Regions from separate parts of the Homo sapiens genome. Here all the other regions are linked to region 2. The links are contacts of gene promoters, found by promoter capture Hi-C in blood cells and fetal thymus (Javierre and others, 2016). All regions are on one chromosome and are shown on one strand. Each heading gives the region's core, a stretch centred on a gene start or on the middle of the fragment in contact. The rest is flanking DNA. Distances are from core to core; before and after follow the strand shown. Region 1 has its middle 630 kb from the start of CSMD3. Region 2 holds the start of CSMD3 (CUB and Sushi multiple domains 3). Region 3 has its middle 530 kb from the start of CSMD3. Region 4 overlaps CSMD3 (CUB and Sushi multiple domains 3). Region 5 overlaps CSMD3 (CUB and Sushi multiple domains 3). Region 6 has its middle 570 kb from the start of CSMD3. Region 7 overlaps CSMD3 (CUB and Sushi multiple domains 3).

Region 1 (3,641 bases), core at 716-3,215, 630 kb after region 2:
GAACCTGCCAACCAAAATTACAAAACACATAAAGGAATAACATGCTAAAAATATATCCTAGAAAACAACAATAATACAGGAATTCATTTGAAGTGAACTTAATTTTAAGGAAGCAATCTGGTGAAAATTTTAAAATGCACATACTTTAGAAGCTTAAAGTGATAGTAAAGAAAATCATTAAAAATAAATAATGAAACAAATACAGGTAGTCATGAAAGAAGAACAGATAGGATAATATAAACAATGGAATTGATATTTTTTGGAAAGGGTCATTTTTATTCTAGTTAACTGTAAAGATATATTAAATTAAAATATAATATTTAGTATTAACTCAGAATGCATTACAGATAAATCAAGATATAAAATATATTAAAGAAAAGGTAAGAGGCACAAAGGAGAGATTGGTCTGTGCCTGCATTCTTCAAATGAAAGTAACAGAGAAAGCAGCAAATGTCAGAGTTACAATGTTTAAAGAGATAATTACCAAGAGTTTAGCAAAATATTTGAAAAGAGAGAGAAACTAATTTCAAGTTTAAAGTGCACCCTGAATATCAGACACGATAATTATAAATTAATACCTGCACACATTGTAGAAACTCTGTAGAAAACAAAAACATAGAAAAGAAATAACTTTTAAACACTGCTTGAGAGAAAATATTATTTACAAAGACATTGCAATTAGATTGCACCCAGCTTCTGAAAAGCAACAGTTTTCATTTATCTAATATTCAAATATTTATTAAATGCTTACTCTTTCCCTGACATTAGTATGCATACTCCAGAGAGAGCTGTGAACAAAACAGACATAAATTCCTTCCTTTGTGGAGCATATTACATTCTAGTTTGAAAACAAGAAAATAATAGAATATGTTAAAATTGCTGTGGCAAATAACTGTGAATCCAGTAGGTTAAAAAATGTAATAAACCATTATAAAATAATATAAAAAATATTTTCAGGCATATGAAGATGAAGAGAGTTCATAAAAAATTGTTGCCAAATAAAGTGAAACCACACTACAAAACTGATTGTACATTTATACAATTTACTGATGAAAAGCAGTATTAAAAGACAAAGGAGAAACATTTGTTCATTTCCATAAATACAGAAAAAGAATTAAATGCCATCCTTTTTATTATTTTTTAAAGGTAATTACATGAATTATTTACACATAATAGAAGAGGCTGAGAAGCTAACTAGGACACACTAAGGCAATCTAAAAATTCAGGCAGAAAGACATGATTGCCCCTAGACTGGAGAGATAAATGGAGGAGGTTGGATTAAACTGAGAGATTAGCACTGCTTTGCAGAGGTTAGAACTTCCGCATCTGTCTGACAGGAATTGGCACTATGAAAGAGATGCTGCTGCTGCTAGAGGCATCTTCCAAGGTATAAGAAGGGAAAATATTGCTTTCTCCCTTACAATTTTTTACCTCTGTTTCCAACCAACCATAAGTAGGTTGCCACTAGGATTCACAGGAATCAGCCCCACTTTCAAAGAGAAATTATAATGAGGAGAGGTGAGAAGTATATATAACAGAAAACATAAGGTAAGTACCTTACCTTAAATTACATGCACAAAAATCAAGTCTACATTACTAAAGACCTAAATGTATTACTAAAGACCTAAACGTACATAGTAAAACTTCAAAAATATCAGATAAAACAGTATCTTAGTAATCTTTGTTAGGAAAGGTTTCCTAAACAAAATACAAGCATGCAAACTAAGAACAAAATGTTTCATATTTGGTACATTACAATTAAAATTTACTTATCAACATGACAAAATTTTTAAAAAATCATTGATTAGAAGAAACCTTTTCATTGCATCTAATGTCTAATTAATTACTCTCTAGTATATATAAAATCTTAAAAAGTAATAAGAAAATACAAATTTCTCTTCTTGTTATATATCCAAAGGAAATAAATTCAATATCTCAAATAGATTTCTGCACTCCCATGTTCATTGTAGACTTATTCACAATAGCCAAGATGCTGAAAAAACCTAAGTGTCCCTCTATGGATTAATACATAAGTAAGTAATTTTACATATATAAAATGACTGGCCATTTATTTCACTTAATAACCAATCATTTTATATACATAAAATGTCCTTCAAGTCCATCCATGTTGTAGCAAAGGGTAGGCTTTCCTATTTTAAGGCTTAATAATATTCCAAATATTATTAAACCTTAAAAGGTATTTTTTAAAGGTAAATACATGAATTATTTACACGTAATATTAGACATAATGTTTGACATAATATTACATACAATATTACACATACTACACTTAAAGGGTTACTATTATTATTAAGCCTTTAAAAGGAATATTATTAAGTCTTAAAATAGGAAAACCTACCCTTTGCAACAACATATGAACTTGAAAGATATAATGCTAAGTGAAGTAAACCAGTCACAGATAGAAAAATACTGCATGATCTCACTTTAGAATTTAGAAAAAAATACTGCATGATTCTCACTTAGAATTCATAAAAGCAGAGTAGAATGGTGGTTACCAAGGATAAAGGTTGGCAAAATGGGTAAATGGTTTTTGTTTATTTATTTGCTTGAGACAGAGTCTTGCTCTGTCACTCAGACTGGAGTACAGTGGCACGATCTTGACTCACTGCAATCTTCACCTCCAGCGTTCAAGTCTCATGCCTCAGCCTCCCCAAGTAGCTGGGATTACAGACATGCCCCACAATGCCTGGCTAGTTTTTTGTTTGTTTGTTTGTTTGTTTGTTTTTTAATTTTTAGTGGAGACGGGTTTCACCATATTAGCCAGGCTGCTTTCAAACTCCTGACCTCAAGAAATCTGCCCGCCTCGGCCTCCCAAAGTGCTGGGATTACAGGCGTGAGTCACCGTGCCCTGTCAGGTAAATGTTAATCAAAAAGATGCGAAGTTTTAGTTATGTAGCATGAATAAATTTTAGAGATCTAGGTACAGCACGGTGACTATAGTTAATAATACTGTATTGCAAACCACTTGAACTTTGTTAAGAGATTGGCTATTGCGTTCTCACCACACACACCAAAATAAGGCAAAAAAAAAAAAAAAAGAAAATGTAAATAACCTAATGTATAAATAGACTAAAATATTTTAAAATCCAATGAACCCATGAAGTGTAAAAACATAATTGTACTATAATACTGAATCATTCCTCAATCATCAGAATGACCTAACTTATAAAACCTGAAAACATAAATGTTGGTGCAAATTCAGAGCAAAGGAAATGCTCAGAAACTACCGGTAGGAATGGCAGTTAGAATAACTATCATGAAGAACAGTTTGGTGATATTTAGTAAAGTGAAAAATACAATAAATTGAGACTTAGCAAGATTACATAATTTGCCCAAGGTTCATGATTATCAAATTGGGAACCTAAATTTGGGTTCAGCTTGTGACCTTAAATTTTCTTATCCATACCCTCAATAACTATGATAATAAATAACTTAAGAATATCAATTCTAAAGCATAGTAAATCCCCAAATTATCAATGTTTGAATTGTTGAGTAAATTTTGTTTAGCGAGGTAAGAGATTTTGTAAGTGCAAGTAGAATTATTTTTAACAAGGTTTGAATTCAGGCAACTCTTAGTTAACCAGAAAATATGATCTTCTACCTGTGACTGACCAGGATTT
Region 2 (3,560 bases), core at 388-2,887:
GCGACTGACTTCCTGGCATTTTGGGATGTAAATTAAAATTCTAGACATGCCACCCATCATTGGTTATAGTAGAGGGAAAGGTAACCTCTCCAGCTCCCTCCTCCCAAAACATGAATTATCATTTCCACTGAATGCAAATGAGCTGCCTTCCGTGGGGGGACAGCCAGCTGCAAGCTGGACAATAAACTGTTTCATAGAGACGCGGCCCGATTGCAGTTCAGAGAGGCACTCCTTTACAAAGGAAGAAGCGTCCAGTTTGTGTTGACAGCCCTGGCGCGCCTGGGCCAAAACAGCACCCCCTTTCCCGCGATCCCCCGCCCCCCCGCGACACACAGACACCCGGGATTTGAAACTAGCTTCACTGAAAGCGGCATCCATAGCGTCTATTCGAGCTGCCATGAGTATGGAGAGGTGATTGTTCAAAAAATGATGGCATGAGTCATAAACACCTCCTGAGTATTCTTTGCAGCAATTAATGGGCAGCAGGGTGCCGGAGAAGTTGTGGAAGAGAGCTATGGATCTATTTTCTCCCTAAGGACAGCTCTTTTTCCCATGATCCTGACTGTCCCTTGCCTTCCTGCTTGGGAATACATTTTTACATCCCACCTACCCCCTCCCCTATCTGTGCATGTGACACTCACTCTACCTGTCTGAACGCTGAGACTTGCTGGGGATTTTCTTTTGGTCGTCAGCTAATGACTTTCCTCCTACCTCATTCATCCCTTAAGGTGGTTCTTTACACTTCATGGCATTTCAGACCCTTCGAAAGCCTCATTTTTTGCCAAACCTCTACCACAGGTCCTAGGGAAGCTCCCCTACATTTAACATTGCATAGAAGCCCAATTTACATACATATGCATGCAGACATTCATGTTGATGTGGCAGTGCTTGGAAGATCCCTGTGCCCTAATGCATTTAAAATCAACACATTCCTAGCACGTCGATAACTTTCTTCCCTGAAAGGGTTAAAAAGCATTTAGACCAGCGTCTTTAATATATATATTCCACCCAAAGCCTCAAGCCCTAGTGATCTGACAAGAAATCAAGGTAATCCTCACCACTAAGAAAAGTCTTGCAGAGGAATTCTGCCTGGATATCCACTAGTTAGAGGCTATACTAACCAACTCACGTATTCGTTTGAGCATACTGCAAGAATATTTATTGAGCACAAGCTCAATCACCGCATTGAACGCCAAATCTGGCAAGCAAAATGCATTTCCTATCTGAGGGGGGGAGAACGAGCTGTGAATCAACTCCTTTAGTATTATCAGATTATTTTATCGGTGCAAATTGCAAAGTAAGCTGCCAGCCTCTCTCCATCTACAAGTCAGCCCACCTCCATCCAAAGCGGAGGGGACCCCCAAAGCAGACCTACCTTTCACACAAGACACCGTCAATAAAAAGACGAGGTTCCAAAACGTAAATCCACTTTTAATCCCCATTTTCTTCATCAGGATGAAGTCTAGGCGGCCACATTTAGCGCATCTTCGCTTGCCAGGCTCCCAGGGTTTGGATTCCTTTGCTCGGCTTTCCCCTTTGCGGATCCCTTTCATATTATTCGCGAGCTCCTAATTCCTGCTCCTCAGCCCGGCGCAGTGGAGTTGTTGCTGTTGTTGGTGCGCGGTCACAGCTCGGAGTGAATGGTGTTTCTGGGATACCACAGCAACCTTGACGAGGACTCAACCATCTCTCCAACGGGGGCACAAAGTCTCCGCTACTCTGGATTCTGTCTTTTCTTGTGCGTTTTTTCCCCTCCACCAAAATCTACCCCAATTCTGGCTCGTTATAGCAACCACCAGAAACCACTAGTGAGCCTCTTAAAGCCCACCTCTGCTCTCTGATAAACTCCACACAATATTTGAAATTAAGGGGCTTGCTTTTTTTCCCCGAATAGATCAATTCTGCCTGTAAAAGCAGCCCAAGAAATAATGTTAGTGAGCTCTCCGTTGCAGGCTGCGAATACAGAAGCATGTCAAAGGAATATTTTAATCGGAGGATCTGTGTTGCTTTTGGGGAAACCGTGACGATAATGAATCGGGCTCCATCGATGCCCACGTCGTTATAATGGGACATGTGTTACTACTGTAGTTGCAGTATATTTCAGGCAGGCTTCTCCCATTTATTATCCTGTGATTTAATTGAAAAAGGAAATCACAGAGAATTTTCTCAATAAATTCTGCCTTCACACGGAAAAGAATGTATTTGAACACATGTATTTACATACTCAAATAACTACGTGTAAACCCTTCACCGGGTTTTTATGATTCGGGAAACGGATTTCATCCGTGGCCTGGGCGGGGGTGGGGTGGGGAGGGAAGTCAATGTCGTTTCCTCAAATAGTTCTCCCTTTCATCCTCCCAACCCCCTTTTCAGTTTGTGTGTGCCGCAGTTAAACTACTTTATCTGTGGTAGTTATCTAGAACAAACCCATTTGTCTTAATTCTGAATCGGTACCAAATATGTAAATAGGAGGTTTCTTTCAAAACGAAAAATGTATGTATCTATACATCTGGATCTGCTTCCCCCATGCACCACGCAAGGGTTAAGATTGCACAAGGGAAGAGTTCTTGCGCCATCTACTGGCCGTCTCCGAGCCGCCCGTTCTTCCTTCGCATGTATAAGGGACCCTGTTTTTGCCATCCCTTGGTGTCAGGGGAGCTGTGTCCCCGGGACCAGTATGTCGTGCTCCTTGATTTTTTTCGACCACGGTCCTGGCCCAAATCTTTCAATGAACAAGTTCCTTAGATTAGGCAACTGATTGGTGATCTGACCTTTTCGGGAATCTGGTCCCCTCTCAGCAGTGGGGAGTGCCACAGCGCTAGTTCTGAAACAGGATATTGCTGTTGCGTGTGGCTCCATTTAACTGCCTCAGGCTATCATGGGCGTGAGCGTCTATCAACAAGGCTTAGTCTAGAGGACTGCCCAACTTGAGTTTGCAGCTCCCTGCACTGTGCACAAATAATGGGTTTGGTCCCGTGCACCACAGCATTACCCTGGCCAGCTTTGTCCCTTGGCTCGCGTTGGAGCTGCCCGCTCAGCAGAGGAAGGCGTTAGAATCTGGAAGGAGTTCCGCTCTGGGAAGTGGGCACACTGCGAGTGTCCATAGGTTTGAGTGGCGAGTGAGTTCAATCTGCAGGCGTAGGAAGGCTTCTGATCTCTCGGGGTACGTGGCATTGTGTGTGGGCCTGTGATTCTCCCAGTTCGTGTGTGTGTGTGTGTGTGTGTGTGTGTGTCTGCGCGCGCGAGAGCATAAACGCGCTGTAGTGAGAGGTAAGTGTGCGTGTTTATGAAAGATACAAAGAGTGATTTGCCATGCGTAGGTGTTTTCCCAAGTGTATTTTTGCAGTACATATGCGTGTGCACGCCTGTGTGTGTTTGTGTGTTAGAGAGGGATTTCTGTCCTGGGTAGGGAGCTGTAGCAAAAGGTAAAAGCTGTAGACGCCCAGCTGACCTCATTAAATTCAGAGAGATACTTTAAGAGCCCTCAGGCAGAACATTGTCCCTTCTTTTCAGTGCTCTCTTTCATTGTCTGCATATGCAGGTTTCGAAGGGGAGTGGGC
Region 3 (3,665 bases), core at 580-3,079, 530 kb after region 2:
GTATTATCTGTGTAAATACTGTATCTGCTTGTCTAATTAGAGAAGTGCCCTGAAAGCACAGCCTATTTTATTTCTTTTGTATTCCTGCATCAATGCCTAGACTAATACACATTTTTAAGAAGTCTTCTGAGAATAGTAAGGGGACTTTATAGAGGGGGCTGCTCCCTTTTCTAATAAGTCTTCACATTTTGAGTAATAAAAGCATATATTTTTGCACAAGATTTTGGTGGTGGTTCCTTGGGCAACAATCGGGGGTTTTTCTAACAAAGGAGATCTCTTTCTAGTGGGCATAGAGGCAAACACATTACTCATCATGAAGACAGATAACTAATATATATTGAGCACTTCTAGAAGGCAGAAATATGATAGGCAAACTTAACCCTCACAGCAATCCTAAAGTGTATTTTCTTACCTCCATTTTGTGTATGAACATAACAGAGTTAATAAGGTTTGTGAAACTCTTCCAAAGTACTCCCCTTTTAAGTAGCAGAGACAAGACTAGAAACTAATATTTTTTATTTCAAGTATCTGCTTTCATCCATTATAGTAAGGTACATGAAGTGGTCTTCAGACCAGAGGCTTCTGGCTTCCATGATTATCGTTTATAGTTTGAAAGTCAGATCAGTCTCTTGAAAGCGGCCATGTCTTTGCAGCAATAGGGATTTGTACAAGGGAGCATGAGCAGCAGTGAAAGTGATGAGTTATCAGATAAATCTGTAGCAAGCTGACTGAAAAATGGGAGTGAAGGTTGAGAGGGCTTCTACTGAGCAGACAATGGAGGACTTGCCCTCCAGGCAGAGATAATGCCGTGAGTAAGGGCTTAGAACTTTCAAGTGTGTGTTGTGATGAAGCAAAACAAAACAAGCAAACAAAAAATAAAACACAAATTTCTCTGAGTGGTGACAAAAGGAAAGTTTCAGAAAATGAACAAGGTCCAAGGAGTATGCTTCTGTTTCAGAAGGGGGAATGTATATTTGAGGAATTAAAGAAATGAAGAAGTGAAAGAGATGGAATACATTCTGGAGATGCTTTTATTGTATGGGGCTAGGAATTTAGCAGTGGCTTTATAGAAAAAGTGTCACATTACTTGTATACAATAAGATGAATAATATGTTAACAGTTAAAATGATTAAATTCTAAGTGTTAATAGATTTCTTTAGATGATTTTTCTCAGAATTTTGTAAGTTTAAATGCATGGTGCAAGTTTAACAACTGTACAGAAATAGATTTTGCTTTTGTAATTATATAAGTTTTGAAAACGAAGGTTATAGCACAGAAATGTATAGAAACTAATTAACAGCTCACCATCTAGAATGAACAAATATTCATTTGGCTTTTAAATTTTATACTTTTTTTTTAACACAAGAAAAAATACTACAGATAAGCTCATTGTTCCTTTTCTCTATTCTTTCATACCATTTCTCCTCAGTCCTTAGAGGCAGCTTTGGAACTAATATCATTATCACTGGATGTGTTTGGGTTATTTTTTTTTTTTGTCTTTTTTAAAATTTATAATACTATTACACATATGCATTAATACACAAAATATATTGTTGTTTTGTTACCTTAAAAATATGCGATAAACACAGGATATTTACTTCTTCCCCTTTCATCTCTTTTCTACCAAATGCCTTTAAATCATAAACCCTCTTTTGACTTTTTTTGGAATAAAGAAAACTAGGGACAAGAAGATTTTCTGGCAATAAAGATACTTCCTTTAATTAAGGATTAAGAGAAAAAATCTCAGAAAGTACAGTGTGAAAGAAAAATGTTCTATATTTACAATGATATGAGTCAAAAATATTTAGCCAACAACCAATCTTATATAAGTTAGATAAAGACCAAATTATGATATTTCCATGTTAAGTTAGGGTGAATCTAAAACATAATATGTAGATTAAGGTCAAACCAAAATAAGACTATTCTTTTTCAAGTCTACCGAATGAGTTAATTTATTAAAATATATTAATATGAGCTTTATAAACACCTGAAATCACATTTTTTTGAATTTAGAAAACACACATATCTTTAAGTGAAGTGCCTGATGGCCGTGGGTATATACTGTAGTTAGCAAGAGGATTAAATTCAGAAATGTTTTTATAACCTGGGTATGACCTATTCATATTAATAGTCTCTTGTTCAAAACAAGCCCTTTAATTTTTTCATCATTCCCTCAAAGGAGTTTTATATTGTTGTTTAAACCCTTAAGTAAATAGTTTGAGGAGAATTCAGAATGTGAATAAAATTCCCAGAGCTCAAGATATCTGAGCTATTAATTTAACAACTTGGAGATGCAATTCAACAAACCATGTGTGAATACCCATGTGTTCTGACATATTGAAACAGCATTTTCAATTAATTAAGGAATTATTAATTAACCCCCATTAGTACAGCTTATGGTATGTCTTTCAGGAATAAATCTCAGTGGAATTAATTTACTCCACAAATGTTTATTGGGTGCTTCCTAAGTTCTGGTCACTATTCAAGGTTTCGATGATACTACAAAAGTAATAATAATAAAAACAAAAGCAATGATAATAAACACATTTCTGTCCTTGTGGAGGTCTAAATAAAAAGACAGAAGAACAAAAAATTAAACAAACCCTTTACAAAATATTGCATAGTATATTCTTAATTGGAATATATGAACTTCTCAACCAATTCTTTACTCTCTCACTCTAGGTTTCTTTTGTTTCATGTATGAGAAAATGTTTTCAACATTTTAAATTGTATTCTTCTTCATCTCTCTCTGCTATTTTGAGCTTATTATGTGTTTTTGTGAACAAATATTTTCATACTTTCATAAAGATTAATTAATTCACTCAAATTCCATGGGTATATACTGTAGCCAAAATGTGATGTTGAATAGTTGGAAGGAAAGTATATCTATAATGTTTCAAATGATATGAATAAGTCATTGACATAAGATCATCATTAACATAATATAAGTTTTATGGCAATATTTTCCAGTGTATTTTTTTCAGAACACTATTTTTGTTAAATCCTCCTCCAAAAAAATTTCTCAAGAAAATGCTGCTCAAAATACCACTCTATAAGAAAGGTTATAATGCACAATGGTAAATTAAATCTTTAAAGTAATCATGTAAAAAATGTACAGTTTTACACTAGTATTTTTTAAATATCTTACCCTAGGGTATTTTACCCCCTTATTAGCAATTAATTTCCTAGGGAACCATTACACAAGATAACATTTTGCTGCTGCTTTATAGTAAACCCAACTTTGGGATCATTAGGGCTTTAATGATGAATGTTATTTCCATGGACACTACTAATTCCCCACAATATCCATTTTTGCCATTTTAAAAAGAAAAGAAATTGTGTGTTTTGTTGAGGAGCATCATTGCTCAGCTAGAGACTATTATTTTTGTTTAAAGACACATTTGCTTATTTTTGCCTTCTCTTTTGTGTCCTTCTGTTTGTGAAGTGGTAAAATGAATACCTACCTTAGGTTCAGTGAGCATGAGAGAATTGTCCAGCTAAATAAATGGGTTCCATTGACAACCTTATAGAAGAGAGAAGTAAACATCAATGTTCTTTGAACCATTGTATCTTTGTGTGTCCTTGTTATAGAGATTAATATTTATTCTAAATATTACAGGAATAATCTTTTGTTTTATGTTTCAGCTAGTTTTATTTTTTTCACT
Region 4 (3,861 bases), core at 743-3,242, 630 kb before region 2:
GTACCAAACCTTTCAGAATTTGTTATGATTCTTTGACCTCATCCCCAGCAAATGAACTGCTGGCATTTATTGGATACATATTATTCTTGGTGGAAACTTAAAAAGATCTGCATAACTAGAAGGAAAGATTGAGAAGAATGGAAGAGGAAATGGATAAATTAAAGGCACTTTCATTGATTCTTCTTCCTTTTTCTGCTATCTCTGCTCTTTCTGCATCCCTTGTGTCTCTTTATCCTTCTCTGCCTTAGTAGACTCCTGAGAAGATCAAAGCAATGGTGTTTTAGACCTCCAGTTCTCCTAGTTAGTGTATTTCCCTACAAAGGACAAGGCCACAACTTCTTTCGCTGATAATGAATTATCTGCCTTGTTTGAGGAAACAGATTTGTGTGCCTCATGCCCTAACCCTGAGCCTACTCAATGTTTTAGCACATACTGTGCCCCCAAAAGTCACTTATCATTTATATTTCATGTATTTAGGAAAGCAGAAATTATGAAGGAACGTGCTTGGGGAATAATTGGGAACTTGTATAAAAGACTGTCCCCACATGAAGACAAAAAGATGTAGAGTGGTCTCACTTGCTATTTGGAAAAAAAATAGTCTTAGTCTAATAAACAGTAACATGGAAAATAAGCCAAAAAGTCATATAATTCTACATTTATCTTGTCACAATGTGAGAAAGACCAGCTCTTATTTGATCACCAGTGAAGCTGATGCCATTGAGAAGTTATACAGACCTCCTTGCCAGCTGATATATCTCAAATAAAAGCTTCTTTTCCCTGCTTCCCAGAAGTTTGCAGGCATCCTCTGCAGCATGTTTTCAGTTTACAGTCCCGGGCATGGAGATTTGCACAGGATACAGTGTGGAGTTCTGCAATCAGCAGACTCCACTCATGTGATGGAACAAGCACACTGGGGACCAGAAGATCACCCATTGAACCAAGAGGTAGATAACTGTTCATCACCCTCCACAAATAAGGGATAACTAAGAGATTTGGAGACTCACTGAAAGTAACTCCTTGTAGCTGTACTCGAAATCTTTCCTCTAAAAGTGAGCTGCGTGAAACTGCAATGGTGTATCCGAAAGACAAGGGAGTCTGCCATTGATTTCCATTAGCAGTTTGTTGAGGCTTTCTCAGAATCTACCGGTATGGATCCAAGGGTAGTTCAAAATTTTTGTCTCAGGTCCTTTGATGACTATCCAAATTCAAATTAGAGGAAGGGTATTAGGATGGCAAGGACAGATTCAAATGTTAGCAGCAGTTACTTAGTTTTGGGACAATCTAGAGAAATGTGAAGAAGAAAATAAATTAAAAAAAAAACTGATATGTTAATTATCCAGTAAGAACTATTTAGTAAAAGGCATAACCCCTATTCTGGCCAGCCTGTAGAGTGAGCAAAGAAAGAAAACAAAACCATATGCCATACTGCGAGAAGCCAGATGTTGGAGGCGGGACTGGAGAAAAGAGAATCCAGAGGATACAGCAACTGCAGAAATAAGGGAATCAGGAAAGCCCAGAAGGCTGGGAAATAATTTGGGAATGACCTAAAACTGACAGATTGAGGGGATCTCAGATGTGGGAACTGATGATACGTACATTTCAATAACTTTCTCTCATGCTAACTCATTGCATTTATTTTATTTTATTTTATTTTATTTTTTTTGAGATGAAGTCTCGCTCTGTCACTAGGCTGGAGTGCATTGGCGCGATCTCGGCTCACTGCAACCTCCAACTCCCGGGTTCAAGCAATTATCCTGCCTCAGCCTCCTAAGCAGCTGGGACTACAGGTGTGCACCACCACACCCAGCTAATTTTTGTATTTTTAGTAGAGACGGGGTTTCACCACGTTGACCAGGATGGTCTGAGTCTCTTGACCTCGTGATCTGCCCGCCTCAGCCTCCCAAAGTGCTGGGATTCCAGGTGTGCATTTTCTAGTAGTTGCTGGTGCTACTTATTCTGTGATTTCCCCAGAAAAGTCTTACTTTCCATCTGGTGTTAATGAACACACGTTGTTGGTATTTTGAGTTAGCCTTCTACTTGCTCTTTTTCTTCTGCAGTTCCCACACAAATAGGGCCTCATATTGGGAATAGGTTTTCTTAGTTTTCTCCTGATCCTCCTGTAAACCTATTGCAGGGAGACCTGCTGGGAAAATTAAAGACTACCATATTCTATATTCCATAGGGAGTGTCTGTGGAACTCCCTGGAATAAAAGGAATCTGATTACTGTGTACCTTCTGAAAGAAAAGGGGTATTCCGAAAAGCAGCTTTCTCACACTGTGCTGGATAAGTGCCCTGAACTGAAACAAGTCAATTCATCACTTTGGGCCCTAGCAAGTGGTTTAGTTTGAGGTGTAGAATCAATAGAAATTCTTTACAAAAAACATAAGCAATGGCCATGGTCAAACAATACCCTTTGTCAAAGGCTCTACTAGAAGAAATAAACACAGTTAAAAAAATTCAAAGACAAGTGGTAATTTTATAAAGACACTCACCCTGTAATATTAATACTGCCATACTTCCAGAAAGGAAAGAAGGTAAATGTGATAAAGATGATTGACCTGTGTACAAGATCTTAAAGAAGAAAATAAATTTATTGCTCCATTCACGCCTTTAGTTTCTAACATCAGAAACTTTAGTACTTTGCTACCATCCTCTGCAAAGTTTTTTCTCCGATTTATCTATGATCTGTTTTTTCTCATTGCTCTAGTAAACAAGTTTACATTTCTGTTGCTGTTTGCTGTTTTACTTAGAAAGGAGTTCAGTATTTATGAAAAAGTATTCAAGGATTTCCTGACTCTCCTTCCATTTCTCTAATCATTTACAGAAAAAACTTAAAGAAATTTGTCCCAGTGGGGGATCTGTAAGTCATCAGCATGTTGATGGTTTGCTGGTAGGCTCAGAAACTAAAGAGCAATAAAAAACTGACACTTCAGCTTTGTTACAACTCCCCCTTCACAAGGGCATAAGCCTTCAATAGACAAATTGCAAAATTGCCAAACTGAGATAAAATATTTAGAGCATCTGTTGATGCTGAAGGCATTATGTAGGCCTTAAAAAAAAAAACTATTTTGAGGACTAGTAGAATATTGTGGACAGTGAATTTCAGTTTTGTAAAGTGGCCAAAACTCTAATGAAATAACTGTGTAATAATTCCTCGGATCCTTTTATTTGGTCAGTAGAATCTGAAGAAGTGTTCCAATTAAAATTGGCTATAGTATAAGCTTTGGGAGTTCCAAATTTTGCAAAGACTTTCCACTTGCTTTGCTATGAAAATAAAGCGGCTACTTTTGGAATTTTAACTCAAAAGTTGGGAATAGATGACACATTAATAACAAATTTCTCAGTTTCCTTGGAGGTAGTGGCACTGTTGATGACAAGATTCTGTGGAAGTAGCATATAAACTTTTTAAAAGGCTCAAGCCCTTACCTGCAGTCACTTATATGCGCGTCCCACATGCTGTGACAGCTATCTTACAAGTGCAAAAAATCCAGAATGTGTGGGTATGCCAACAGACTAGTTAAGAACAAGCATTGATCCCAGTATTGTGCTTAGGAGATGCAATATCCTAAATCATGTTACTCTTTTACCAGATCCTGATCAAATAGATGATCATGATTGTATTACAGGGGTAAGAGAAGACACTAAGCTCTGATGAATTTATCTGATATTCTTGTCTGTAATGAGGCAGAGAAAGGATGGGGCCTCGCTTCAGCTCACCTCCACTAGAACATCCTTTCTTGCATTCCCCCGATCACAAACCTATACCACTACTTCACTGATAACATACCTGTTAGTAGTCATACAAGGAAAAAAGCCATTCTATGTTCTTCTTCTGTGCTCTCATAATGTGTAACCATGCC
Region 5 (3,535 bases), core at 75-2,574, 590 kb before region 2:
TTTGAAAAACTCCCACATGACAGTTACTTCATTAGATATTAAGGATGCATGGACTCAGGAACTGGTTTTTGTCCTTAAGGGTTAAACTAAGGAAAATAAGTGCACAAACATGTAAGTACAATGTAATGTGACAACACATGGGTCAGTTATGCAGAGTAAGCTTTCCCAATCTAGGTGGGAAGATAGGACAGGCTTCTAGGAAAAGGTAAAAGATTACCTGAGTCCTAGAAGATGCCATTAATAAACAGGGTCACAAGACTGGAGATGTGTAAACAAAGTGAAAAAGTATATTCCCTACAGAAGGAGCGGCTTATCCCCAAAATACAGGGTCCTAGAAGTGCTTTGGGGGCTAAATAGAGTGTTGAAGTATGAGTCTAACACAAGAGTAGTTTAGGTTGCCCATGGCTTCCTCTATAAAGCTATGCAGAACCATTTAAATATTTTACAAAGAAGACATTATTTCATCTCAGAATAAAACATCACACTGAATTTTTTGGAAAGTAACAGGCTTGGAGTAAGCAGAAAAATGAGATGAAGATTTGCTAATTGGAAAGCTGGTTATTAATCCAAAGGAGAATAATGGAAACCTGAGTGAGAGGGAGTTAAACAACTTCAAGGCATACTAATTAAATATAATGAAGTCATTGGACTTTGTATTTAGATATGTGAAGGAAAAGGGGAAGGATGTAAAATGAAAAATGTTTGAATTATTAATATAGAGGAACACTAATATTTAAGGATAAGGTCACTAGCAAAAGCCTGGAAACGTAGGGGGAAATTCAGGAAAACAGAGAATAAAGAGGCTGGGGAGGATAAAGTTTCAAGGAAAAGGAAGTAGTCAATAATATGACTCACTCTATACCTATGCCTTTCTTTTACTTAATTTATTATTTAAAAATGTGTTTTCATTATAAAATGAAGCATATATCTTATTTGATACTTTTTTTGTTAGTACAAAATTAAAGTGGAAAATGCATGTAATCTTCTATCTAGAGATAATTCTTTTTTAACATGTTAAAATTATTCTTAAAAAAGATAATTCTTTTTTAACATGTTAAAAAAGAAATATTCTTTTTTCCCCTTTCTTTCTTTCCTTCTCTCTCTCTCTTTCTCCTTTCCTTCCTTCCTTCCTTTCCTTTCTCTTTTTCTTTCTTTCTCTCCCTCCCTCCCTTCCTTCCTTCCCTCCTTCCTTCCTTTTTTCTTTCCCTTTATAAATACACTTTTTAATTTTCTTGAGATAGGTGTTGCTCTGTCACCCAGGCTGGAATGCAGCAGCAGGGTTATAGCTCATCCATCCTTAAACTCCTGGACTCAAGTGATCCTTCCACCCCAGCCTCCTGAGTAACTGGGACTAAAGACATGTGCCACCATGCCCACTTGGTTAATTTTTAAAAATTGTTTTGTAGAAAAAGGGTCTTGCTATGTTGCTCAGGATGGTCTCAAATTCCTGGCCTCAAGTGATCCTCCCACCTTGGCCTCCCAAAGTAGCTCCCAGGTATGAGTCACTGTATCTGGCCTCATTTTTTCTTTATTGATATTTATTTATTTATATTTATTGATATTTAATTTTATTGTACTTGCACAGAGTAATTCACTTTAAATAAAGTATTTCAATTAAATAAACCATTTGAACAAAAAAAATAAGTACCATTGGTAGGGGTTAGGAATAGTTAAGGTACTGCTATACAGATATGGTTCACTTAAGAGGAGGGGAAATAAAAGATCAGCGCCTTTAAAATTCTACTGCCAAGCCTGGGTGTTCTATAAATAGTGACCAGAGCTACTTTTCTTGGCTTGGGGAACCTTGTAGTTGGTTTTTCTAATTTCCATCTAATTGTTTTGTATCAAGATCTTCACTCTGCTACTAGGTTCTTTCTGAATCATGCTTTGTTAAGACTGCCAACCTGGCTTTAATTTCAGTTTATCCCTGTACTGCTGCCTCAGGTTTGGTCTTGTTAGTGCCTGCTCCATTGTAGTAGATACTGTCAATGCTCCAGGTGATCAATAACCCCCTTGGATGCTTCTTGCCCTTTCTGTTATCTGTTCATTATCTTCCATACACTATGCATTTGTCTCTAAACGTGTATAGCTATGAGTCTTCTGGAGACTGCTTTCAGGCTACAGGAGCCCACTTGGTCCACACATGAGCCCTGAAAGATCTGGGTATCACTTACCCTATGATCATGGGGTGCAGAAGTATGAGAGCACAGCTTCTTTGCCTTGAGTTGGGATAAACTATCAGGTGTAATTTACACTGCATGAGATCCAGCAGAGGCTTGGATTTTGTCTGAAATTGCACCTTGCTTAACTTCCTTCTTGTCCTGCCTCTCCCACTCCCTTAATAGTTTCTCCTGGATACACTTTCTTAATGAATCAGCAGCATATAATTCCTTCTCTTGGGCCTGCTTTTTCAGGAACATAACTGAAGACAGCTATAGTCTGCAGAAAAGTGACTCTCTATGCCTGGCTGAGGTTTCAGACCTGGCACTGAAGCTTGGCACAAGTACCAAATCTCCAAATATTTGGCGCAAAGAACTAGTACCTATAAATGGGCTGACTAAATGAAGTGGCAAAAGGCTATCTCTAAAGATGGAAAAGTGACAAGAATTGTTCAGATGACAGTGTTACAGGTGAGTTCAAGAGTGTATTCTGATGCCTGAAGACTTTATGGGGAGGAAGATTAAGATTGTATTTAATGGATCTAAAGAAAAAACATGGGCTTAAATGTATTGAATGTACAAAGGTAATATTTCACAGTTTAATAATTTTACCTTCATTATAAATTGGACCTTCACTACTTGTTTTTAAAATAAGCCAAAGAATGGAATGGCCTGTCTGAAAAGGAACTTCATCTCCTACTAGAAAAGGCTGTCCTTTACCTGAATTTAAGTTTGGGGCAAGTGTCCATAAAAACATAAGAGCAGAGAAAAACTCATTTAATACTTCACTTCAACAGAAATCAAATCTATGTTTCAGAATGATATGAAATGTTGTAATGAAGTTTTATCAGAACTATATGAAAAACCCAGTAACTATGCCTTATGGTAGCTCTAGAGAAAATAATATACAGGCACAAATATGATTTAATATAAATGTAGTTAGCATTTATTTATAAAGCAGTACAAATACCAACAAAATATTTGCTATTCATTGTGCACTCATCTTAGACTGTGCTGTATTAAAGCACCTAGTAATTTCCGAACAATATATATTGCTTATTCATATTAATTAATTATTTTATTTATACAATAAATGTTAACTGGTCACCCACTATGAGCTAGGTACTATGCTTATGCTTACACATCCTTAAATACTCAACATATCTCAATATATGTATAATGGTCTATCTGATAATGTCATTCACTAAAAGTTATCTTTGGAATAAGGGATGGGATGAAAAATAAGCATATATAATTCCTTAAACTTACAAGGTAGTTTCCAATGTACAAAGTGCTGTTTTATTTATTAACTTGTGTGATACTTCAAGACTCCTATGACATGGTGAGGCATGGATGATTACCCCTAATTTAAAGAT
Region 6 (4,006 bases), core at 924-3,423, 580 kb after region 2:
AGTCTATGTTTCCACTTGATCCAATATTGCTCTAAATACAATCTTGGATTTTATGACTCACATTTAGTAAATGATAATTAGATTTTAAAGCAATTTTATCAGTTTACTCTTTTAAGGAAGGTAATATCCAACTCTGATATAAAGATAATATAAGGCAGTGAGTAGTTCACCTTTCTAATACACTATATTGCCAAAAGTGACTTGAAACAGAACTAAGTTTTCGTTTCAGTTATTTTTTCTTTTTTTTTTTTCAAATTTAGGGGACTATTTTAAATGAAGTAATCAAATCATTTTCCTCTAATTATTATCACAGGTATTCAGTATATTGTGCAATCAAGTCATATTGTTACAACAAATTGCTGAAAGAAAATTACTAACAACCTGATTTACAAAATTTGCATGATACCTTCTAAAAATTTTCTTTTTAAGGATTTCAGGTGCAGAGAATTAGCTTAATTAAAACACTTTCTTCCTGAAAGATAACTTTATTTTGTATAAATTGTGTTTTTTAGATTTTATCATGCTTTATTTTACTTTATTCTTTAATAATAAAGTGAACACCTATGTACCACAAACCAAAACATAGTCAATAATTTAGATACACCTATATGCTCACTTTTACCATCTCCTTGCCTCTCCCTCAAAGTTGACACTATTCTAAATATTGCCTTTAGCATTTCCTTATTTTTTCAAATTTAGCTCACTTGTGTGTATAAGATAGGTGTATATATTGCTTAGTTTTGTTTTTCAACTATTTATAAAGTAGATGATTCAGACAGCATTGTTTAATGACTACTCAGCTTTAAAAAACAGTGATATAAAAGATTAAATGGTAAGTGTAGAATCATTAAAATATGTGCATGCTAAATGCAACTGAAAGGCTACTTAGATTTTTTAAAATATTTTTCTTCTTTTATTGATGCACAATATTTTACCTATGTATGAGGTACATGTATGTTTCACATGCATAGAATATATAATGAACTAGTTTTATTTAGATTTATTAGATTTAGCATGACAGAGGGAAAAGAATATTAACATAAGAAAATCTGTATTTTATTATTTCTGATTAAAATATATTATAAATTAGTATAGATCAGAACTTTCTATCTTGGCCTGAAATTCTATGTTGAAAAAGTACAGGATTAGGATCACAAACAAAATGAAACAGAAAATGTGGTTTAAAGAAATATCATAGAGCAGTGGCCTCCAATCTTTTTGGCACCAGGGACCAGTTTCATGGAAGAAAACTTCCAAGGGCTGGGGAGGCGGACGGTTTCGGGATGATTCAAGTGCATTACATTTGTTGTGCAGTTTATTTCTATTATTATTACATTGTAATTCATAATGAAATAATTATACAACTCATCATAATGTAGAATCAGTGGGACCCCTGAGCCTGTTTTCCTGCAACTAGCCAGTCCCATTTGGGAGTGGTAGGAAAGAGTGACAGATCATCAGGCACTGAATTCTTATAAAGAGCATACAACCTAGATGTCTCCCATGCACAAATCGAATTAGGGTTCGAGCGCCTGTGAGAATCCAGTGCTGCTGCTGATCTGACAGGAAGTGGATGCCAGAGTCGGGAGCACTGTCAGTACAAATGAAGCTTCACTTGACCGCCCGCCACTCACTTCCTGCTAGGCAGCCTGGTACCAGTCTCTGGCCCCGGGGGTTGGGGGACCTCTGTCATAGAGAGCGTGTGTGGGGGATGTAACTAAAATAGGGCATGGAAGTATATGACTTCTTCCAAAGAGATATATTTGTTACAAGTATAAAGAGAGGGAAAGTTAATATACAGACATTGTGCATTATGAAAATCAACATGTTTAAAGGAAGAGTCATTCTCAGGAACATGTGAGTAAATGAAAAAGGGGCCAGGCACAGTGGCTCATGCTGTAATCCCAGCACTTTGGGAGGCCGAGGCCAGTAGATCACCTGAGGTCAGAAGTTCGAGACCAGCCTGAACAACATGGTGAAACCCCATTTCTACTAAAAAATACAAAAATTAGCCGGGCATGGTGGCAGGTGCCTGTAATCCCAGCTACTCGGGAGGCTGAGGCAGGAGAATTGCTTGAACCCAGGAGGCAGAGATTGCAGTGAGCCAAGATCATGCACTCCAGCCTGGGTGACAGAGCAAGACTCTGTCAAAAAAAGAGAAAGGAAGAAAGAAAGAGAGAGAGAGAGAAGGAAGGAAGGAAGGAAGGGAGGGAGGGAGGGAAGAAAAGACAAGAAAAGACAAGAAAAAGGAAAGGATTGGGAGGAAGTGGAAATAATATCATGGTCTGAGATTAATGCAAGGTCCTGACCAGCAGGAGACAGAGGCTCATTATTTCCCCAAAACAGCACTCAACTGTCATGAAAGCAAAGGGAATACTCAGGGTTTCTGTGTGCTCTACACTACTCATGATTTACTGAACTAAAACCAAGGAATTTAAGAAATTGTTAGATTACCTTTTTGAAATTTTGAATTATCGTAGATCAATGGATACGATGGTCAAGTTGCTCTTTTAAATTTTATGTTAACAAAGAAGAAAACATCAGTGAGATCAAAACAATAACAGAAAGTTTAAATTCCAAGCTGGGTTTTAATGCTAAATAATTGAACCTCAATCAAGGAAATAAGCCATTCAGGTCTAAGATTCTTCATTTTAAAATAAAAACACTGTATTATATTATTTTTATTGTTCAGTAGTTCCCACTTTTCCATGGAGAATATGTTCCAAGACTCCCAGTGGAAGCTTGAAACCACAGATAATACCAAATCCTATATATACTATGTTTTTTAGTTTGATAACCAAGAGGACTACTAATGACTAGTGTAGCAAAATTGTGTATATGCTAGACAAAAGTATATCTCATGTCCTGGGCAGGATAAAGTGGGATGGTGTGAGATTTAATCATGATACTCAGAACAGCACAAAATTTAAGACATGAATTGTTTACTTCTGGACTTTTTTCATTTAGTATTTTCAGATGGTAGTTGACCTTGAGTAACTGAAACCACAGATAAGGAGGGACTACCACACTTTTTAGCTCTGTCATAATTCTTAGGAAATTATGCTTAATATATTCATGCAATTTTTATGTTTGCTCTGCTTTTCAAAGACTTTGAAAAAATGATGGTATTTGACGTTTACTCACCTGGTGAAGGAAAATTTGTAGATTTAATAATAAATAATAATTTAACAACTGATTTATTACTGATTTATGTAGTTAAGAATATCTATATGCAATTATTATTATTATTATTTTGAGACAGAATCTTGCTCTGTCGCTCAGGTTAGAGTTCAGTAGCATCATCTCAGCTCACCACAAACTCTGTCTCTCAGGTTCAAGCAATTCTCATGCCTCAGTCTCTGTAGTAGCTGGGATTACAGGTGTGCATCACCATGCCCAACTAATTTTTGTATTTTTGGTAGAGACAGGGTTTCACCATGTTGGCCAGGATGGGTTTGAACTCCTGACCTGAGGTGTTACACCCACCTCAGCCTCCCAAAGTGCTAGGATTGCAGGAATGAGCCACCATGCCCAGTGGCAAATAGTATTTTTTATTGGGAATTTTTATTTTTATTTTTAATTTCATCATTTTAATTTTGTTTTTTTATTGAATTTGATCTAATCGATTTCTTTTTTTTTTTTTTTTTTTTTTTTTTGAGACAGTCTCACTCTGTCACCCAGGCTGGAGTGTAGTGGTGTGATCTCAGCTCACTGAAACCTCCACCTCCTAGGTTTAAACTATTCTCATGCCTCAGCCTCCCAAGTAGCTGGGATTACAGGCACATGCCACCACACTTGGCTAATTTTTTATTTTTAATAAAGAAAGCTTTCACCATGTTGACCAGGCTGGTCTTGAACTCCCAGCTTCAGGTGATCTGCCCCGCTCGGCCTCCCAAACTGCTGAGGTTACAGGCATGAGCCACAGCGCCTGGCCTGATGTAATTGATTTCTTTATACGCCATCTACAGTATTTTATATACCTATAAATTCTATTTTGAAGAAACAT
Region 7 (4,023 bases), core at 1,186-3,685, 610 kb before region 2:
GCTTAAGCAGATTCTAGATGAGTGGCTATTGAGAATCTGTGTGGATCTCTGGTTGGGACCCTAGGCCCTGGTGGCGTGTGCTTGTGACTGGGATCATCCAATCTGTGGGTTGCACAGTTCCATGTAAAAAACATGGTTTCTCAGGCTGGGTAGCACACTCCCTCACCACCTCCCTTGGCTATGGAATGGGGGCTCCCCTGCCCCATGTGGCTCTCAGGTGGGCTGCTGCACCACACTGCTCTTTTTCCTCTCCTTGGATCATGCTAGCCACCTAGTCAGTTCTGATGACAGAATCTGGATATCTCGATTGCCAGTGCAGGATTTGCATACTGTTGTGGTTCTTTTCAATGGCAGCCTCCGATCTCTGCTGCTTCTAGTTGGCCATACTGGCCCTGCCCCAAAGCCTAATTTTTAATCCCTACTGAAGATGCAGTTCTCATTGGAAACTTTAAATTTGATGGTGTAGGAACAACCATTTGGGTACTTGGTATTCTTTTGAAAAATAATACCTAATAGTCATTCTATGTTACTTATACAATGATTTTCTGTCCAAAAAGGATATCAATTGGTACATCAGAATTCATGATTGTCTTCCGAATTTTTCTAACATTGAAATAGGGTGAAAAATATGGTTCAAACACACATTTTTTTTAACATTAGGGATTGTACAGACCACTCCTCAATCCCAACAAATGTACTCTTTTTATATTTAACCAGTTCTAATAGTTGAGTATTTAAGATAATTTTGACATCTTTCTTCTGTATTTTACTAGGTTACCATAAATATATATATATATATATATATATATATATATATATATATATAATCTTTCTACCCACAATTGTGTGATACCAATTAGCTCAAATAGCTTTTTTTTGTTTTTTTAAGAAAACAGCAATAGGAGGACATAGCATCTATGCTCTTGGATGTCAGTTGGACAAGATGATTTCTAATATTTTATCCAATGCTGAGATGGAAGTTTTTTTTGTGGCAGATACATGAATGAAAGCTTCTTAAAAAGTATTTTTTAGTCAATTGACTAGCCAGCCTGCCTTTTCTTGTCCATGTTTTTAAGAATCTGAACCTAAAATCCAGTTTTCTGTCTTAAGGAGAAAAAGGAAAAGATATCTCATCAAATACATGTTTTACAATTTTATCTCTAAAGTGCATGTGATAGGATCTAACAAACATGTAGAGAGAAACATCTGCAATGTGTGAGGATTAATCACCAAATTTACTATGTATCATTAATATCCAAGAAACTTCAGTGTTTATGAGTGTCAGGTAAAGAAACAAACATATTCACTTGCAAAACAATGAATAAATTGATAAAGAAAGCAATCCACATTTTGTCTTATATCAGGTGTCACTTAATTAGCTATAGGCCCAGGCAGGCAACGCAAAGGATCTTAGAAGCTCAAGTGGAAAATGATAGAGGGATTAGGGCCACAAAGAGGCCCTCTCCATAGGAGGCAGAAGACAGTCCTAGCCAATTTTTGCCACATGACTATGAAGATCTAGGGTCACCAGTTTTACAAGAAGCCATAAATTCAAATTTTTACATGTAATTTTCAGTTCCTTAAAACTCTGTATTTGACAAATAATGATAGGAAAAAAGCACAGCTAATCATCAGAGCAGCTCTGTTGCTGCCAATTTATATATATACAATTTTACAGTATATTGCATGTAAAATATATGCAATTTTATATTATAATGAAATCTAAGCTATCAGGTATAAAACTACAATAAGATTTAGTAGAAACTATTGATTATTTCTGGAAAATGTCAGTTCAGTATGGTAATATGCCTAACAGGCTCAAATTGTTGCTCAGGTGCAACAAAAATGCTGATCATTTTCAAGAGAGGAAGTGTTAAGAATGAAGTTACAAAAATGTGAGCAACATAACTGATATAGTTTGGATTTGTGTCCCCACCCAAATCTCACGTCAAATTGGAGGAGGGACCTAGTGGGAGGTGAATGCATCACAGGGGTGGATTTCTCCCATGCTGTTGTCATGATAGTGAGTTCTCACAAGATCTGATGGTTTTAAAGTGTGTGGGACTTCCCCCTTTGCTCTCTCTCTCTCTTTCTCTCCTGCCACCATCTCTCTCTCTCTCCTGCCACCATCCTGGCTTCCCCTTTGCTTTCGGCCACCATTGTAAGTTTCCCGAGGTCTCCCAGTCATGCTTCCTGTTAAGCCTGTGGAAATGAAAGTAAATTAAACCTCTTTTCTTCATAAATAATCCAGTCTCAGGTAGTTCTTTAAAGCAGTGTGAAAACGAACTAATAATTGAACATATAAAGCATGTAAAATGCTGGCCCATTTGTCCATCACACCTTAGGAAACACAAAACAGAACTGTAGTAGGCCAGAGATAGACCACCAAATCATGTTGATCAATGATATCCACGTTGCAGACAGGGGAAAGAGGTTGAAGTTGAGGTCAAGAGTGCATGAAGACAGGTGAGTAAGTTTGGTTTTTGTTTTGTTTTCTAGAAAAGTAACACTAAAGAGCAGTAATATTGGAGCCCACAACATACTATGTGTGACTATGAGTTTAACCCTTGGTTTATTACAGGATTCTGGAATAATAGTTCTAGGAGGCCTTCTTGTAAAATTAAAAAGAAAATAAAAAGAAGAGGGAGAAGAGAATGAAAAGGAAAAGAAAAAAAAAGGAAAAAAAAATAGCTTACCTTTAGTCAATTTACATACAATAAGGGCATTACCAGTAGTAGCTGTCTATGCTGATACTAATTTTTTTAACATTTATATCAGTTGTTCTCCAACTTTGATGTGCATAAGGATCATGCAGTGATTCTGTTAAAATATAGATTGATAAATTCACATCCTGGAGATGTTGATTCACTAAGTTCGGCTTGAGGGCCTAAAAATCTACATTTTCAAATGTGCACCAGGTATTTGTGATGCATTTGTGATGCAAAAAGACCCTATTTTGAGAAGCATCAGGTTAGATGAGCAGGCCCTCACCAGACGTCAAATCTGCTGACACCTTAATCTTGTATTTCCTAGCCGCTAGAACTATAAGAAATACATTTCTATTGTTTATAAGTCACCCAGTTTACTGCATGTTGTTAGAGAAGCCCAACTGAACTGAGACAAAGTGCCTTAAATCTCATTGAAGAAGCACTAACAGATTCTATGAAAGTTAACAATAATAACTAAGTTACTGTGCATCTTCTGCTGGTAGTAGTGGGAGCGATCAATGTAAAACAATAATTTGAAAGTAAAATTTTATTAGTACCCGATAGGCTAAGGCAAAAATGAAACATTGGGAACTTACACTTGGAGCACTGTCCTAGGATCTCCAACTTCGCCCCCATCGCCAATTGTCAAGGTATCATAGCCAATCTCCAGATCAAATTCTTCAAAATTTATCTGGATAACCTAGCAGTAAACAGAAACATGCACCTTAAATATACTGCGTTGTGCAATAAAAACAACAAAAAAAGCAATGACAGAAATGCATTCTTTGTCTCTCTGCACACACACACACACACACACACACACACACACACACACACAAGCAGTTCAATTATGTATAAATATATATATAATTTCATAGTATGGCAGCAAGTCATGTTAGAATATTCTTAAAGTTCAATCATATCATTACATGACTTTTACTTGCTGTATTGTATTTTCTGCATTAAATTTTCAATGAAATTGCATGGTTTCTGTTTATAGAATACTCTTACTTGAAGAATGATTAAAGCAAATCTACTTTAAGAAGGCTTTATAAAAAGTATATGTAGGTGGAGAGTGGTTTTCCACATATTTGCATATATATTTTATAAAGTTAACATGCAGAAACAGAGTGTGCTATTTCCATTAAGTAGTAAAGCTTAAAATTTGTTAGAGCTAAACTTGAATCTAGATTGCCAGAATGGTATCAAGTTTATTTTTATGTATCGTTTGGTAAAAGAATTCCTCAAATATATTAAAATGAGCGGCAAAACTGGGAGCACAATACTTTGAGAGGCACACTATACCATGCTATGT

What was found. Contacts are between HindIII fragments. The CHiCAGO score rates a contact against its expected background, and 5 or more counts as called.
Region 1: a contact is called between a fragment that was not itself captured here and the fragment with the promoter of CSMD3 in region 2, in 1 of 17 cell types (megakaryocytes). The highest score is 5.9, in megakaryocytes.
Region 3: a contact is called between a fragment that was not itself captured here and the fragment with the promoter of CSMD3 in region 2, in 1 of 17 cell types (neutrophils). The highest score is 5.0, in neutrophils.
Region 4: a fragment that was not itself captured here is called in contact with the fragment with the promoter of CSMD3 in region 2 in 10 of 17 cell types (M0 macrophages, M2 macrophages, M1 macrophages and 7 more); the score reaches 37.3 in M0 macrophages.
Region 5: a contact is called between a fragment that was not itself captured here and the fragment with the promoter of CSMD3 in region 2, in 1 of 17 cell types (M2 macrophages). The highest score is 5.6, in M2 macrophages.
Region 6: a fragment that was not itself captured here is called in contact with the fragment with the promoter of CSMD3 in region 2 in 1 of 17 cell types (neutrophils); the score reaches 5.0 in neutrophils.
Region 7: a contact is called between a fragment that was not itself captured here and the fragment with the promoter of CSMD3 in region 2, in 4 of 17 cell types (M2 macrophages, M0 macrophages, M1 macrophages and 1 more). The highest score is 9.3, in M2 macrophages.

The regions. Positions count from the first base shown.
Region 1 is chr8:114,064,842-114,068,482 of GRCh38, forward strand. No RefSeq gene overlaps it. Among named protein-coding and RNA genes, the nearest start is that of CSMD3, 630 kb to the left of the region's middle. The HindIII fragment of the contact is 3,630 bases long and covers 151-3,641 here.
Region 2 is chr8:113,435,302-113,438,861 of GRCh38, forward strand. It overlaps CSMD3 (CUB and Sushi multiple domains 3), which reads right to left and starts at 1,638. Exons shown (of 71, transcript NM_198123.2): 1 at 1,376-1,638. The coding sequence starts at 1,553. RefSeq lists enhancers at 222-732, 2,510-2,559, 2,572-3,072. The HindIII fragment of the contact is 6,354 bases long and covers 1-3,560 here.
Region 3 is chr8:113,965,353-113,969,017 of GRCh38, forward strand. No RefSeq gene overlaps it. Among named protein-coding and RNA genes, the nearest start is that of CSMD3, 530 kb to the left of the region's middle. The HindIII fragment of the contact is 6,634 bases long and covers 1-3,665 here.
Region 4 is chr8:112,803,021-112,806,881 of GRCh38, forward strand. All of the region lies in intron 12 of CSMD3 (CUB and Sushi multiple domains 3), which reads right to left. Among named protein-coding and RNA genes, the nearest start is that of MIR2053, 160 kb to the left of the region's middle. The HindIII fragment of the contact is 2,455 bases long and covers 766-3,220 here.
Region 5 is chr8:112,845,189-112,848,723 of GRCh38, forward strand. All of the region lies in intron 11 of CSMD3 (CUB and Sushi multiple domains 3), which reads right to left. Among named protein-coding and RNA genes, the nearest start is that of MIR2053, 200 kb to the left of the region's middle. The HindIII fragment of the contact is 2,333 bases long and covers 159-2,491 here.
Region 6 is chr8:114,009,929-114,013,934 of GRCh38, forward strand. No RefSeq gene overlaps it. Among named protein-coding and RNA genes, the nearest start is that of CSMD3, 570 kb to the left of the region's middle. The HindIII fragment of the contact is 1,132 bases long and covers 1,608-2,739 here.
Region 7 is chr8:112,826,382-112,830,404 of GRCh38, forward strand. CSMD3 (CUB and Sushi multiple domains 3) reads right to left here. Exons shown (of 71, transcript NM_198123.2): 12 at 3,305-3,408. Among named protein-coding and RNA genes, the nearest start is that of MIR2053, 180 kb to the left of the region's middle. The HindIII fragment of the contact is 2,855 bases long and covers 1,009-3,863 here.